2 separate regions of the Homo sapiens genome follow, and region 1 is linked to region 2. The links are contacts of gene promoters, found by promoter capture Hi-C in blood cells and fetal thymus (Javierre and others, 2016). All regions are on one chromosome and are shown on one strand. The core of a region is centred on a gene start or on the middle of the fragment in contact, and the rest is flanking DNA. Distances in the headings are between cores, read along the strand shown. Region 1 overlaps MAST2 (microtubule associated serine/threonine kinase 2). Region 2 holds the start of CCDC17 (coiled-coil domain containing 17).

Region 1 (6,255 bases), core at 130-2,629, 210 kb after region 2:
GGAATGTATATTTACCAGTGTAAATTTATCTTTATAAGAAACTGCCAACCTGTTTTCTAAAGTGGCTATACCATTTTTGCATTTCCACCAGCAGTTGCTCCACATCTTATCAGTACTAGGTATTATCATATATTTTTTTTTGAGATGGAGTTTCACTCTTGTTGCCCAGGCTAAAGTGCCGTGGCACAATCTCGGCTCATTGCAACTTCCACCTCCCGGGTTCAAGCCATTCTCCTCCCTCAGCCTCTCAAGTAGCTGAAATTACAGGCGCACGCCACCACGCCCAGCTGATTTTCGTATTTTTAGTAGAGGTGGGGTTTCGCCGTGTTGGTCAAGCTTGTCTCGAACTCCTGACCTCAGGGGATCCACCCGCCTCAGCCTCCCAAAGTGCTGGGATTACAGGTGTGAGCCACCGCACCCGGCTATCATTTTTTAAATTTTAGCCATACTAGTGGATGTGTGGGAGTTTCTCATTGTGGTTTTAATTTTAATTTGCATTTCTCTAATGACTAATGAGATTGAACATATTTTTATGTGCTTATTTGCCAATTATATATATTCTTTTTTTTTTTTTTTTTTTTTTGAGATGGAGTCTCGGTCTGTTGCCCACGCTGGAGCGCAGTGGCATGATCTTGGCTCACTGCAACCTCCGCCTCCTGGGTTCAAGCACTTCTTTTGCCTTACCCTCCTGAGTAGCTGGGATTACAGGCATGCACCACCATGCCTGGCTAATTTTCTCTGTATTTTTAATAGAGACGGGGTTTTGCCATGTTGGCCAGGCTCTTCTTGAACTCCTGACCTCAGGTGATCCACCCGCCTAGGCTTTCCAAAGTGCTGGGATTACAGGTGTCAGCCAATGCGCCCAGTCAGCTATTTTTATATATATACATTCTATGATCAAATGTCTGTTCAAAACTTTTGTCTATTTAAAAAAAAATTTTTTTTGTCTTATTGAGTTTCAGGAATCTTCGTATATTCTGAATACAAGTTATATATCAAATATATGCCTTCTAAACATATTCTCCCTGTCTGTGACTTACATTTTCATTTTCTTATCAGTTTTACACAAATATTTATATACGAAAAATGTGGAAATCAGTTGTATCCCTCTATACTAACAATGAGTAATTAGAAATCAAAACTTAAAAATCAGGACTGTTTGCAATAGTTTAAAATATGAACTACTTGAAGATAAATTCCAGAAACCATTTTGGAAGACCAGTACATTGAAAACTACAAAACATTACTGAGACAAATTAAAGAAGACCTAAATGAATGGAGAGATACAACATTTTTGTGTATTGGAAGACTCATATCTTTTCTTTTTTTTTTCCTTTGAGACAGGGTCTCACTCTGTCATCCAGGCTGGAGTATAGGGGTGTGATCTTGGCTCACTGCGACCTCCGCCTCCTGGGCTCCAGTGATCCTCCCATGTCAGCCTCCCAAGTGGCTGGGACTACAGGCACCATCACAAATTTTTTTTTTTTTTTTTGAGACGGAGTCTCGCTCTGTTTGCCAGGCTAGAGTGCAATGGCATGGTCTCAGCTCACTGCGACCTCCGCCTCCCGGGTTCAAGTGATTCTGCTGCCTCAGCCTCCCCAGTAGCTGGGATTACAGGTGCCTGCCACCATGCCTGGCTAGTTTTTGGTATTTTTAGTAGGGATGGGGTTTCACCATGTTGGCCAGGCTGGTCTCAAACTCCTGACCTCGTGATCTGCCCGCCTCAGCCTCCCAAAGTGCTGAGATCACAGGCGTGAGCCACCACGCCCAGCAACATCTGGCTGATTTTTGTATTTTTTGTAGAGATGGGGTTTCGCCATGTTGCCCAGGCTGGTCTTGGACTCCTGTACTCAAGCAATCCTCCTGCCCTGGCCTCCCGAAATGCTGGCTTACAGGCATGAACCACCTGGTGCCCAGTCTAGGAAGACTCATATCATGAAGATGTAAATTTTCTCCATTAAGCTATAGATTTAATGCAGTCCCGATCAAAACCCAGGTAGTATTTTTCAGAAAATATCAAGCTGATTTCAAATGTGTATTGAAATGTAAAGGACCTAGAATAACCAAAACAATATTAAAAAGAAGACCAAAGTTAGAGGAATCAAACTTATTTTATGACTTTGTATAAAGGAACAGTAATCGGGTCAGTGTGATTATTGGTATAAGGATAGATATATAGATCACTGGAACCAAATAGACAAATTTGCCAAGGCAATTTAATGGGGGAAAAGGTAGTCTTCATAACAAATGGTGTTGAAACAATTCACACAAAAATATCAACCTCTATACTTACCTCATGCTGTACAAAAATTAACTTGAAGTGGGTAATTGAACAAATGTAAGAGCTTAAATCATAAAATGTGTAGAGGAAAACGAGAAAATTTTTGTGATTTTAGGTGGGGCAAAGGTTTCTTGGAGTAAAAAAAGCTTAACCTATAAAAGGAAAAAAATTGGCTTTTATCAGAAAGAAAAATTTTTGCTCTTCAGTATTTATTTTTAATGGAATGAAGACAAATTGAAGTGTATCTACAAGGGGGTGGAATGATGAGTAAAACTTGTGTTAAAGAGTTATTAACAGATTTTGTTGTCTGTTTGGATTTTAATACATATCACTACCTTCTACCTTTGGAGGTAGAAATCTAGAAGTCATAATGAATGTTCTTTGCATGCAACTCCTGTGGGTTTACCCGTTAATTTATACTTTTTTCATTTCTACTCAAGAAAATATATTTGAATGAAATCATTGTGAATGCCTTCTACTTTACAAAAGTAAATACAAACTCAGGCTGTACACCTGTGTTCCACATCCTACTCCTGCCACTTAGTAATCATATGACCCTCTACAAGTCACTGAACCTCTTTAAGCCTCTGTTTTCTCATCTTTAAAATCAAAATAATATTAAGACTTCGCTCATGCAGTTTTTAGGATGAAATGAGACAATCCATTTAAAATAGCATAGTGCCAGATTTATAGTTAAATTTAGAGGCAGCCAAAAGCTACCTCCCTACATAGTGAACTATAACCTAATTTAATATATAAACTACCTGCAACCTAACCTAAGAGTATACTCTTGTAACAAGTAGCTGAGCCTCAGTCAAGCATAGCAGCCAAGTTTTCAGCCAGTCATATAGGCTGAATATTGCCAAAGCATGTTCAAATAAGGCAAACACCTGAACTGCAGCCCATCAGGCTACTTCTGTATGTCATTTCTGTTTCTCTGGCTATAAATATAGCCTACATGCATTGGGGGATGGAACATTCTGAACTGCATTTGGTACTGGATGCTAACTGGTTCATTAATCTCTATTTTTTTGAGACAGGGACTTGCTTAGTCACCCAGGGTGGAGTGCAGTGACATGGCTCACTGCAGTCTGGACCTCTTGGGCTTGAGTGATGCTTCTGCCTCAGGCTGCTCCCTTCCCCACCTTTCCCGGAAGCTGGGACCACAGTTTTCATTTCCTTATTATTTGTAATGGGGGTTGGGGGTGGGGGCTCCCTGTGCTGCCCAGGCTGGTCTCAAACTTCTGGGCTCAACCAATCCTCCAGTCTCCACCTCTGCCTCCCAGAGTGCTGGAATTACAGGGGTGAGCCACCGCACCTGGCAAATCTGTTTTTTGTTCAATTAAGTCATTAAATTTAACTTGTCTCAGGTTTGTCATTTAACAATATGAACAAAATGTATATATTTTTTTCTTTTTATGCCTCGGTACTTCAAATAGTTATTAGTAGCTGTGATACAGTAAGAAATATTGTGTATATTTCTTACCGTATAAAGAAATATATACATATATATATTTCTTCTGTATATATATATAATTACTGTGATACAGTAAGAAATACATGTATTCCTTATATATGTAGCTGGGACCACAGGTGGATGCCACCATGCCTGGCTAATTTTTTGACTTTTTTGTAGAGACAGGATTTCGCCATGTTGTGCGGGCTAGTCTCTGCTGGGCAAGGTGTCAGAACCCGGCAGTGGAGAGTGGTTGGCTCACTGGTGGTAAAAGAATTTACTGACAGCAGTATAGGTTTAGAAAGGAAAGTTTTATTAGATAGAATGCTGCAGCAGAGTGCAGTACAGTGCTTCATTCAGCAAAAAGGACTGAGTGTGTTGCGGTGGATTTTCCTTAGGGGTATTTATGGACTTTAAAGCAGGACCTTAGGGTAATTTGGACCATATTAGTTATGTAGGTCATGGTAAATTATTACATTTGTAGACTTTGGGTGCCTTGATGTTAGCAAGGGTTGCAAAATAAGTTTTGACATTCATGCATTCTGGAGATGTATAGAAATTCTAGTTACTTATAAATTTTTGGGAAAGAAGCCTGGTACCAGATGCTGGCTTTAGATAATAGAGAAGTCTAATTACTTTTCAATTTTTCAGATAAGGAGTTTTGTCTTCGGATGGTCTGCTTGATTGCCACTAGGTGATCGTTGTATTCTTCTGTGTCGAACTCCCAGGCTCAAGTGATCCACCCGCTTTGGCCTCCCTAAGTACTGGGATTATAGGAATGAGCCACTGTACCTGGCTGTTACTTTTATCTGAAATTGAGAATACAGGAAAAGGAACAGGTTTGGGGGAGAAAATTAATGAGTTTGATTCTCAGATGATGACAGGTAATCTGGTGTACATATCCTTTTAAAAATATTGATATGAAATTTACATAACAAAATCAACCATTTTAAAGTGAACAATTCAGTGGCATTTAGTACTGGCAGATTTGTTTTTCACAATACAACTGCCACCTCTATCTAGCTGCAAAACCTGCCTGTTACTTTAGATTTAAACCTCTTATCCATTAAGCCCTTTCTCCCCACTCCCCTTCCATGCAATCTGCATTTTGTCTCTATGGATTTCTCTATTCTGGATATTTTATATAAATAATATTATACATATGTGACCTTCTGTATCTGGTTTATTTCATTTAGCATAATGTTTGGATGTTCATCCACATTCTAGCATATATTGGTACTTTATTCCTTCTTTTGGTTGAATAATATCTCGTTGTATGTGTCCAACACAACTTTTTATCCATTGATGGACACTGGGCTGTTTCCACCTTTTGGATACTGTGAATAGTGCTGCTATGAACTATATGTATACATGTACTTGAGTACCTGTCTTCAGTTCTTTTGGGGATATACCTGGGGTGGAATCACAAAGAAATACGGTAATTCAACTTTTTGAGGAATAACCAAACTGTTTTCTGTAATAGCTTACCATTTTACAGTTCCACTAGCAATGTACTGAAGGTTTCAGTTTCTCTATATCTTTGTCAACTTGTTATATTCCATTTAAAAAATTATTGTTTAGTTATACTATCCTGGTGAGTATGAAGTGGTACCTCATTGTGGTTTTGATTTGTAGTTCTGTAATGACTAATGATGTTGAGCATCTTTTCATGTGTTTTTTGACCATTTATATATCTTCTTTGGAAAAATGTCTATACAAGTCCTTTGCCCATTTTTTTTAATTGAATTTTTTTGTTGTTTTAAGTTTGTTATATATTCTGGGTATTAGACCCTTAGTTATATGATTTCCAAATTTTTTTCCTGTTCTGTGTGTTGTCTTTTTAGTTTGTTGGTAATGTCCTTTGAAGTTTAAAAATGCCCTTGATGAAGTCTAACTTATCTGTGTTTTTCTGTTATTGCTTATGCTTTTGGTTTCATATCTAAGAATCCATTGCCAGCTCCAAGGTCATGATTTACTTCTGTGTTTTCTTCTATGAATTTTATGGTTTTACTTCTTATATTTACTTCATCGACCCATTTTGAGTCAGTTTTTATATTCAGTGTGAGGCAAGAGTTTATTTTTTTGCATGTGGATATCACTTTTTAGGTATCCTTTCAAGAGTTAGATGTCCAGAGTAAAGTACAGCAGTTTAGGGCTATAGATGTGGACTTGGAAGCTGTGGATTAAATCACCATGGGAGAGAGTAAAGAGAAATAAAAGGAATGTAGGGGAACATGAAAAAATTACATGTGAAAGGATAGATAATGTTAGACAGTGAAGTATTCAACTTAGATAAGAACTGTAGGAGTTTAGATAAAGTGCATTCACTTGAGAATTGCTGTCCTTTTCACTCTTAGTTTTTCTTTTTGTAAGAGGAACTTGTTTCTAATGCCATCTAGTGTCTTTTGAAGGGTATATGAGTAATGTTAAGAGGTTTTAAAATAAAAGTTTTGAAATTTCATGAGACTTGAGCAGTATATTGGCAGTCTTAGCTTACTCTCAAGAGCATCCTTAAGAG
Region 2 (6,753 bases), core at 3,381-5,880:
CTATATCACCACCTCAATTTAGTAGTCATGACACCCATAGGGCTGCTTTTGTTGCACTGGAGGCAGAGGAAGCGATGGCCGGCCCCTAAATTCAACCCAATTTTTCAGACTAAGTAAGTTTTTCTGGGCTGGTCACAGTAACTCATGGTTGCAGGATCTCTGGCTTATCCTGGCTGTGGAGTTTCTTCCTGATGTTGCCCTTGCAGTATATGTTCCAGGTCCTGAGGCGCTTTGCCCCCTTTTCTTGGTCAGGACAGTCACGATGTAGTTTACTCCCAGGCACTTGACCTTCTCTGGTTGGCACTGGGATCTAGGGCTAGGCACAGTATCTAAGCTAGATCTCACATGTGACCCCTGGTTGGGGGAACAACCTTGGGCTGGGGACCTATCCCAGAATCAAAGTACATAAGGCCTCAGGAGCTTCCTGTTTATGGGTACATTGAGAACCTGAAAGGTTTCCTGGCAGAAATACTGAGGAAACGGATTTAAGTTTGGCAATAAAACTGGCTTTACCAAAAAAAGCAGTGGGAACTAGTGGGAATTTAAAGTTGCTTTAGTGGGAATTAATGCCCCCTAGTCACCTTTCGGAGAACTTCATAAGTGCCAGACAATATCACAAATACCTGACAAACTCATTTAATCCTTAATCTGTTTTACAAAAACAGAAGAGGTACAGAAAAGTTAAGGACTTAACGGGAGGTGGTAAAGCTGTGGTTGGAACTGGTTTTCTGTACTCAACTGCTAGATGCTTCTAGACCCAATGTCAGAACATGGAGTAGTAAACCTGTAGGTCTGGAAATAGGCCCCAGTCCTGTGCATGTTCAGATGCTCATCTCCACATTCACTTGGGTTCAGAAACTCACTGGGGGCAAGTCAGAACTGTGGTGAGGGCCCAAACCCTCATCTCTATCCTTGACTCCACTGAGGGGCTCTTCTGTACGAGGTGGGGGATCAGCAAAGCCAACTGCGGGGGTGAGGAAGCTGGCTTCCAGTGAAGATGTGCTGGACACCTGTGGAACAGGAGAAGGCAGGTTTTGAGCAAAAATGTAAAGGTTAAGCACACAGGTTTTGGAGTTAGTTAGGCTTCCTTAGAGTCTCACTTACTGTGAACCAAGTTAACCTGCTCCTGCTTTGATTTCCTTATCTGTTACATAGTAGGACTTCATAGAGATGTGAGGATCAAACAAGAAAGCATTGGTAATGACTGGCACACAGTGGTCAATAAAGGCTGGCCGTTAGCCATACCAGCCACACCGGTATGTGTAGCTGTGGTGTCCCTAGCTGCAGCTGGGCCCTCACCGGAGGTGGGTACTGGTACTCATGGACACTTGCTGGATTGATCTCTGCCAGTGTCTGTACAGCTGCATCTCTTGCATTCACCAGCCGCAGAAAGAGCTCAGCCTGACCTGCCTGGGGAGAGATGAAATGGTATTGCACTTGTACTTTGCTGTATGCCCAATCCCTGCGCACCACACTCACCTGAGGAATCCCATTCAGCTGCCCAAGGCTAAGGCTGGGGTCCAGAGGAAGGGCCCGAAGTGGGAGGCGCCAGCGGCCACTTAGCACCCGCTGATCTTGGTCAAATAGTCCAAGTGAGACCCAAGCCTTTGGCTGTGGTGCCCTAGCCCATGCTAGCCCCTGCCAGACCTGCAGCTCACAGACCAAAGATACTGATGATGAGGGTGGTAGTCTGTAGAATAACCAAAAAGCAGTGTCGGAAGCCAGAGCTACAGTCCCTTTCTAGGACTTAGCCCTTTAGAGCCAGCGGCCTCTGTATACAGATGAGAAAACTTAGCAGAATGGTGGATAAGCCTCAACTGTGGCAGAGTACCAGAGTCATGATCCCCACCTACTGACCTGGGCACAGGCTGCCTGCTGGCAAGGATGGCACAGTTGCCCATGGGCCCGGGAGCAGGAGGTGGGGGCAGGCAAAGGGCTGGGGGCAACGCTGTGGTCCTTCCTGTATCCCGTCCATCGCGTGCCAAGCCAGTCCTTAGTTGCACCCAAATCCAGGAAGCCTCAAGGCCCCGCAGGAAATCATAGAAAATGACCAGGCCAGCCCTGGGGAACACAAGTCTTAGCACAGAAATACCCAACTCCTTTCAACCTCCCTCCTCTCAGGCAGGTCCCTAACCCTATCTGGTCCTAGTGGGCTCCCTTAACCAGCAGTGCTGGCCAAGTCACAGAGGCTGTCGAAGGTGGCACGGGCCTCACCCAGGATCATAGGGTGCAGGGCCCAGCATGTCCGATGTGGGCAGGAGGAAGTGTGAGTCCAGGCCCAGGTTTCTGGTCATTGTTCCAGGAAGCTGTGGCTGTGGGGAAGAGAGCTGACTCCTCCAGAAAGCCTTGTAGCTGCTCATGTTCCCCCAACTGCTCAGAGCAGAGCTGCCTCCAACCTGTTCCCCCAACCCACCCCGTGTCCTCACAGCCTTTGCCCCACCCAAGAACTGAACCTCCGAGAAGCCTGGAAGTGGTGGCAGCGGTGGTGCCACCGGTGGCGGGAGGAGTGGGGGATCTCTCCTCCCCTTCGGTTGTAGGCTGGCATCCCCCAGGAGTCGCAGATCCTGGGGCCCTAGGAGCAGAAGAGTTAGGGTGCCCCTAAGTTGGACAAAGCAGGTAATTAGCTGAGATACCCCTCCCCCAAGAGTTGGGCCCACAAATGGGTTGGCGGAGCCCTGTGGATACAGGGATACACACGTGCAGACATGAACTAGGGGAGTCACAAACACGGGTCTTGTTCCCCATGCACTGTCTGCCTGAGCCAGGCCTGCTGGGGAGAGATAAGTGGGATGGGATAGGGTTGGGGTGCTCACTGACCCAAGGGTGCCCGACCCCTCTGCATTTGCAAGGCCAAGATTTCTGCCTCCAAGCGCCGGTTTTCAGCCTCCACTACTGGAAGCTCCCCTGAGGTGGCACCTGCCCTTCCTGCGATGAACAAGTGTGACCTGTCACCTTTGACCTCTGGTGACTGGCCGCGTCCGGCTGTGAGCAGCTCTCCAGCGCTAAGGCTCTTCGGATAAGGCTGGACTTGTCAGCTCACATGCCATCCACAGCCACAGGCCCTCCCTCGAGTTCTTTTCTCCTCCCAGGACTGACCACCGCTGGCGAGAGGCCCTCCTGTTCACCTCTGCGGGTCTGCGACCGCTGCAGCTCCAGTGCAGACGCCTCCACCTGCAACTGCCATATCTGGCCCAGCACGCCGGGGTCCCGGCCCCCGTCTCGAATGTAGGCCTCCCGCAGCGCCCTAGGGAGTGGGGAACAGGAAGGCCGTCTTTCCAGAACTGCTCAGCGCTTCGCCCTATGCCCATCTCCGGCCCCGGCTCTCACCGGATTTCGGCAGCCAGAGTTCCCGGGTTGGCCTTTTGCACTGGAGAATAAAGTTCTGCCTCTCGCCGGGAGCTCAGCGGGTTCCTGGGGTGGCAGGCGACGCGCAGGGAGACGGTAACGCATCAGAGGCCCCGGGGCTGCAGCCAGCCCGCCCCTCCCACCCCGGAGCCGCATGTTCCGGGGATCCGCTTAGTCGGGTCTCACCCTGGCTCCGCCTGCAGCTCCTGAATGCGGGCCCCCAACACCTCTAGAGCTCCCCGCGTCCTCCCGGCCTCAGCTTGTAGTTCTCGAATCTCCTGCTCCAGGCCGAAGAGGCGGGACATCCCGCCCCGCGTACAGGCCACAACTTGGAGGCGTCGGCTCAGTTCTGAGGGAATGCGGGCCGAGTCAGAACCGGCCCGAGCAAGCTTAAGCCAAACGGCGAGGGCAGAGGAGGTCCTTGGTCCCCGTCCCCCATCTCCTTCACCCTCGCCGCGTAGCTGCAGGGCCCGGCTCTGCGCTTCCATCTCCGCCACGCGCCTCGCGCGAGTCCTGAACAGCGCCCGCAGCCGCTCGCTGGGGCTTCCCACCGCCTCGGACATGGGACTCTGAGGCCGCGCCTCGGAACGTGTCCAGGGCCCCGCGAACACCCTGGGGACCTCTGTTATCCAGGGCCGCATTTCCTGTAGGGATAGCCGCAGCCACTGCACCTGGAGGTAACAGCGATCCGCGATCTCTGCGTGGGCAGAATCTGTCCCAAGTATGATCTACAGGTTTGGGGAAGACGCTCAACGTTTTGAGCCCTGGGGGAAGGTAGGTAGCTCTACCTCCTCTGTTAACCTCTTTAGAGCAGATCTACTGGCCTGCTGGTCTGGGAGGCCCTGGGGTTCTTGTGGCACGCCCTGGTGTTCTTGTGGCACAACCTGGGGATAGGGTGTAGTAGGATGAGGAATCATAAAGGTCCTGGCTCCTTTGAATCCCCACCCATGGCCATGGAGGCCCTTACCGCGGCCCGCTGGGGTTCAGTGGCAACTGATGCCTGTGCTCCAAATGTCATCTCTTGGGTCGGGTGGCCAATGCAGAAGCGCTGAGTATGGGTGGCTAACAGAGCTGAGGAGCGGAAAACCATGTCACAGGTCCCACAGGGCAGGAGCGCAGGCTCCCCAGAGTGGGAGTCCATGGGATGGGACCCGTTTCCTGAAACCAGCCAAGACCTGCAGAAGGGATCAAGGGCAGGGGAAAGGCAGAGGAGGATGAAAGAGACATAAAGCCAGAGGCAGAGAGGAAAGGCCGTGTCTATTAGGTCTGTGAGATCTTCAAGTTTGTTTGGGGAGAGCCTTAGCTCCCTGGACAGCAACCACAGGGCTGGGCAGGTCAGGAGAATGGGTGGGGAAACCTCGGCCGTTTGGGAGGAGCCACTGGCTTGAAAAAGTGTTACAAAGTCTGAACGTGGGCAAGTCTCTAATTGTAGCTTGGTTTCCCTGACTATTAATAAAGAGGAAAAAGCAGCTGCCTCCTAGACTAGGCTGGGCCCTTATCACTTACTACATCATTGGTCATTTAATAGCCTCTAAAAGGCAAGTGTCATCTTTTTCATTGCTGTACTCCCAAGTGGATGTAACAGTTTGTACCATTCTCCAATCCAGAGAACTACCTGGCAAAGGAGGCACTCTGACCTTTCCAGCATTCTGCCTGGAAACCATGTCGCACCAGGGATAGCAGTCTCCCTAACTCCCATTCCCTGATTCCTCATTTTTCAGCTGTAGACGAAGATAATCAGCACAGCCCAAGAAATGAAAGCTGTGGGCGAACAGAATGAATCTATCAGATGAGGGAATCAAGTCCAGAAAAAAACCCCTTCTCTCTCCCAAGATTGGCCAGAAGCCAGAAAGACCCTGAACTGTTGGTGAAATTCTTCACTCCACTCCCACTCCCAAAATATATGGAGGAGCTCTGAGGTGACCGCATATTTCTTAAGAAACCCTCTTTACTTTTTTTTTTTTCTTTTTGAGATGGAGTCTCGCTGTCGCCCAGGCCGAAGTGCAGTGGCGCGATCTCAGCTCACTGCAATGAGCTCTGCCTCCTGGGTTCACGCCATTCTCCTGCCTCAGCCTCCCAAGTAGCTGAGACTACAGGTGCCCACCACCACGCTTGGCTCATTTTTTGTATTTTTTAGTAGAGACGGGGTTTCACCATGTTAGCCAGGATGGTCTTGATCTCCTGACCTCGTGATCTGCCCGCCTTGGCCTCCCAAAGTGCTGGGATTACAGGCGTAAGGCACTGCGCCCGGCCAAGAAACACCCTTTTCTCTTCTTTTTTTGAGACAGTCTCGCTCTGTTGCCCAGGCTACAGTGCAATGGCACGATCTCGGCTCACTGCAAGCTCTGCCTCCCAGGTTGACACCATTCTCCTGCCTCAGCCTCCCCAGTAGCTGGGACTACAGGCACCTGCCACCACACCCGGCTTTTTTTTTTTTTTTTTTTTAGACGGAGTCTCGCTCTTTCGCCCAGGCCGAAGTGCAGTGGCACTATCTGGGCTCACTGCAAGCTCCGCCTTCCGGGTTCAAGCCATTCTCCTGCCTCAGCCTCCCGAGTAGCTGAGACTACAGGTGCCCACCACTGTGCCCGGCTAATTTTTTTTGTATTTTTAGTAGAGATGGGGTTTCACCGTGTCAGCCAGGATGGTCTTGATCTCCTGACCTTGTGATCCGCCCGCCTCGGCGTGCCAAAGTGCTGAGATTACAGGCGTGAGCCACTGCGCCCAGCCTTATGCCTGGCTAATTTTTTGTATTTTTAGTAGAGACGGGGTTTCACAGTGTTAGCCAGGATGGTCTCGATCTCCTGACCTCGTGATTCCCCCGCCTCGGCCTCCCAAAGTGCTGGGATTACAGGTGTGAGCCACCATGCCTGGCCGAAACTCCCTTTTCTAAACAAGACAGGGACTTAAGACATTTCCCTACTCAGTACCTAAAGCCAAGGTATGACCCACCAGCAGCAAGTTACAAAGTGTTCAAAGTATGTCATCTCAGTTCAGCTTAATTCCAACTGACATAAAGAGTACATTTTTAGAAATATGTTCTCAGAAAACAAGTAAATGGCAAAGCCCAAATCAAAACCTCCTTTTCAACAACTAAGTTTGTCCCAATTTTCAATGGTTAAGACTTTTGACTGGTTGACTTTACAATGGTGCAACAGTGATAGGCATTCAGTAGAAATACTACTACCATTTTTTTTTTTTTTCCCTCAAGAGACAGCTTGTAGTTCTCTAATCTCCTGCTCTAGGCCGAAGAGGCGGGAGCAGGACTGTCATCCAGGCTGGATTGTAGTGGTGCCATCATGGCTCACTGTAGCCCTGAACTGCCTTGGAATCAAGCAATCCTCCTGCCTTAGCCTCCCAAGAAGCTGGGACTACAAGTGTGTGCTACCACGTGGACCTGTCTATTTTGTT

Evidence for each region. Contacts are between HindIII fragments. The CHiCAGO score rates a contact against its expected background, and 5 or more counts as called.
Region 1: a contact is called between a fragment that was not itself captured here and the fragment with the promoter of CCDC17 in region 2, in 5 of 17 cell types (megakaryocytes, M0 macrophages, erythroblasts and 2 more). The highest score is 6.8, in megakaryocytes.

Annotation. Positions count from the first base shown.
Region 1 is chr1:45,837,655-45,843,909 of GRCh38, forward strand. The region is part of intron 3 of MAST2 (microtubule associated serine/threonine kinase 2); the gene reads left to right. Among named protein-coding and RNA genes, the nearest start is that of MAST2, 37 kb to the left of the region's middle. RefSeq lists an enhancer at 1,173-1,674. The HindIII fragment of the contact is 2,091 bases long and covers 335-2,425 here.
Region 2 is chr1:45,619,424-45,626,176 of GRCh38, forward strand. It overlaps CCDC17 (coiled-coil domain containing 17), which reads right to left and starts at 4,631. Exons shown (of 13, transcript NM_001114938.3): 1 at 4,313-4,631; 2 at 4,134-4,229; 3 at 3,794-4,016; 4 at 3,532-3,694; 5 at 3,328-3,411; 6 at 3,126-3,244; 7 at 2,818-2,925; 8 at 2,454-2,572; 9 at 2,215-2,312; 10 at 1,858-2,061; 11 at 1,480-1,690; 12 at 1,300-1,410; 13 at 621-1,010. The coding sequence starts at 4,486. The coding sequence ends at 852. The HindIII fragment of the contact is 6,664 bases long and covers 3,733-6,753 here.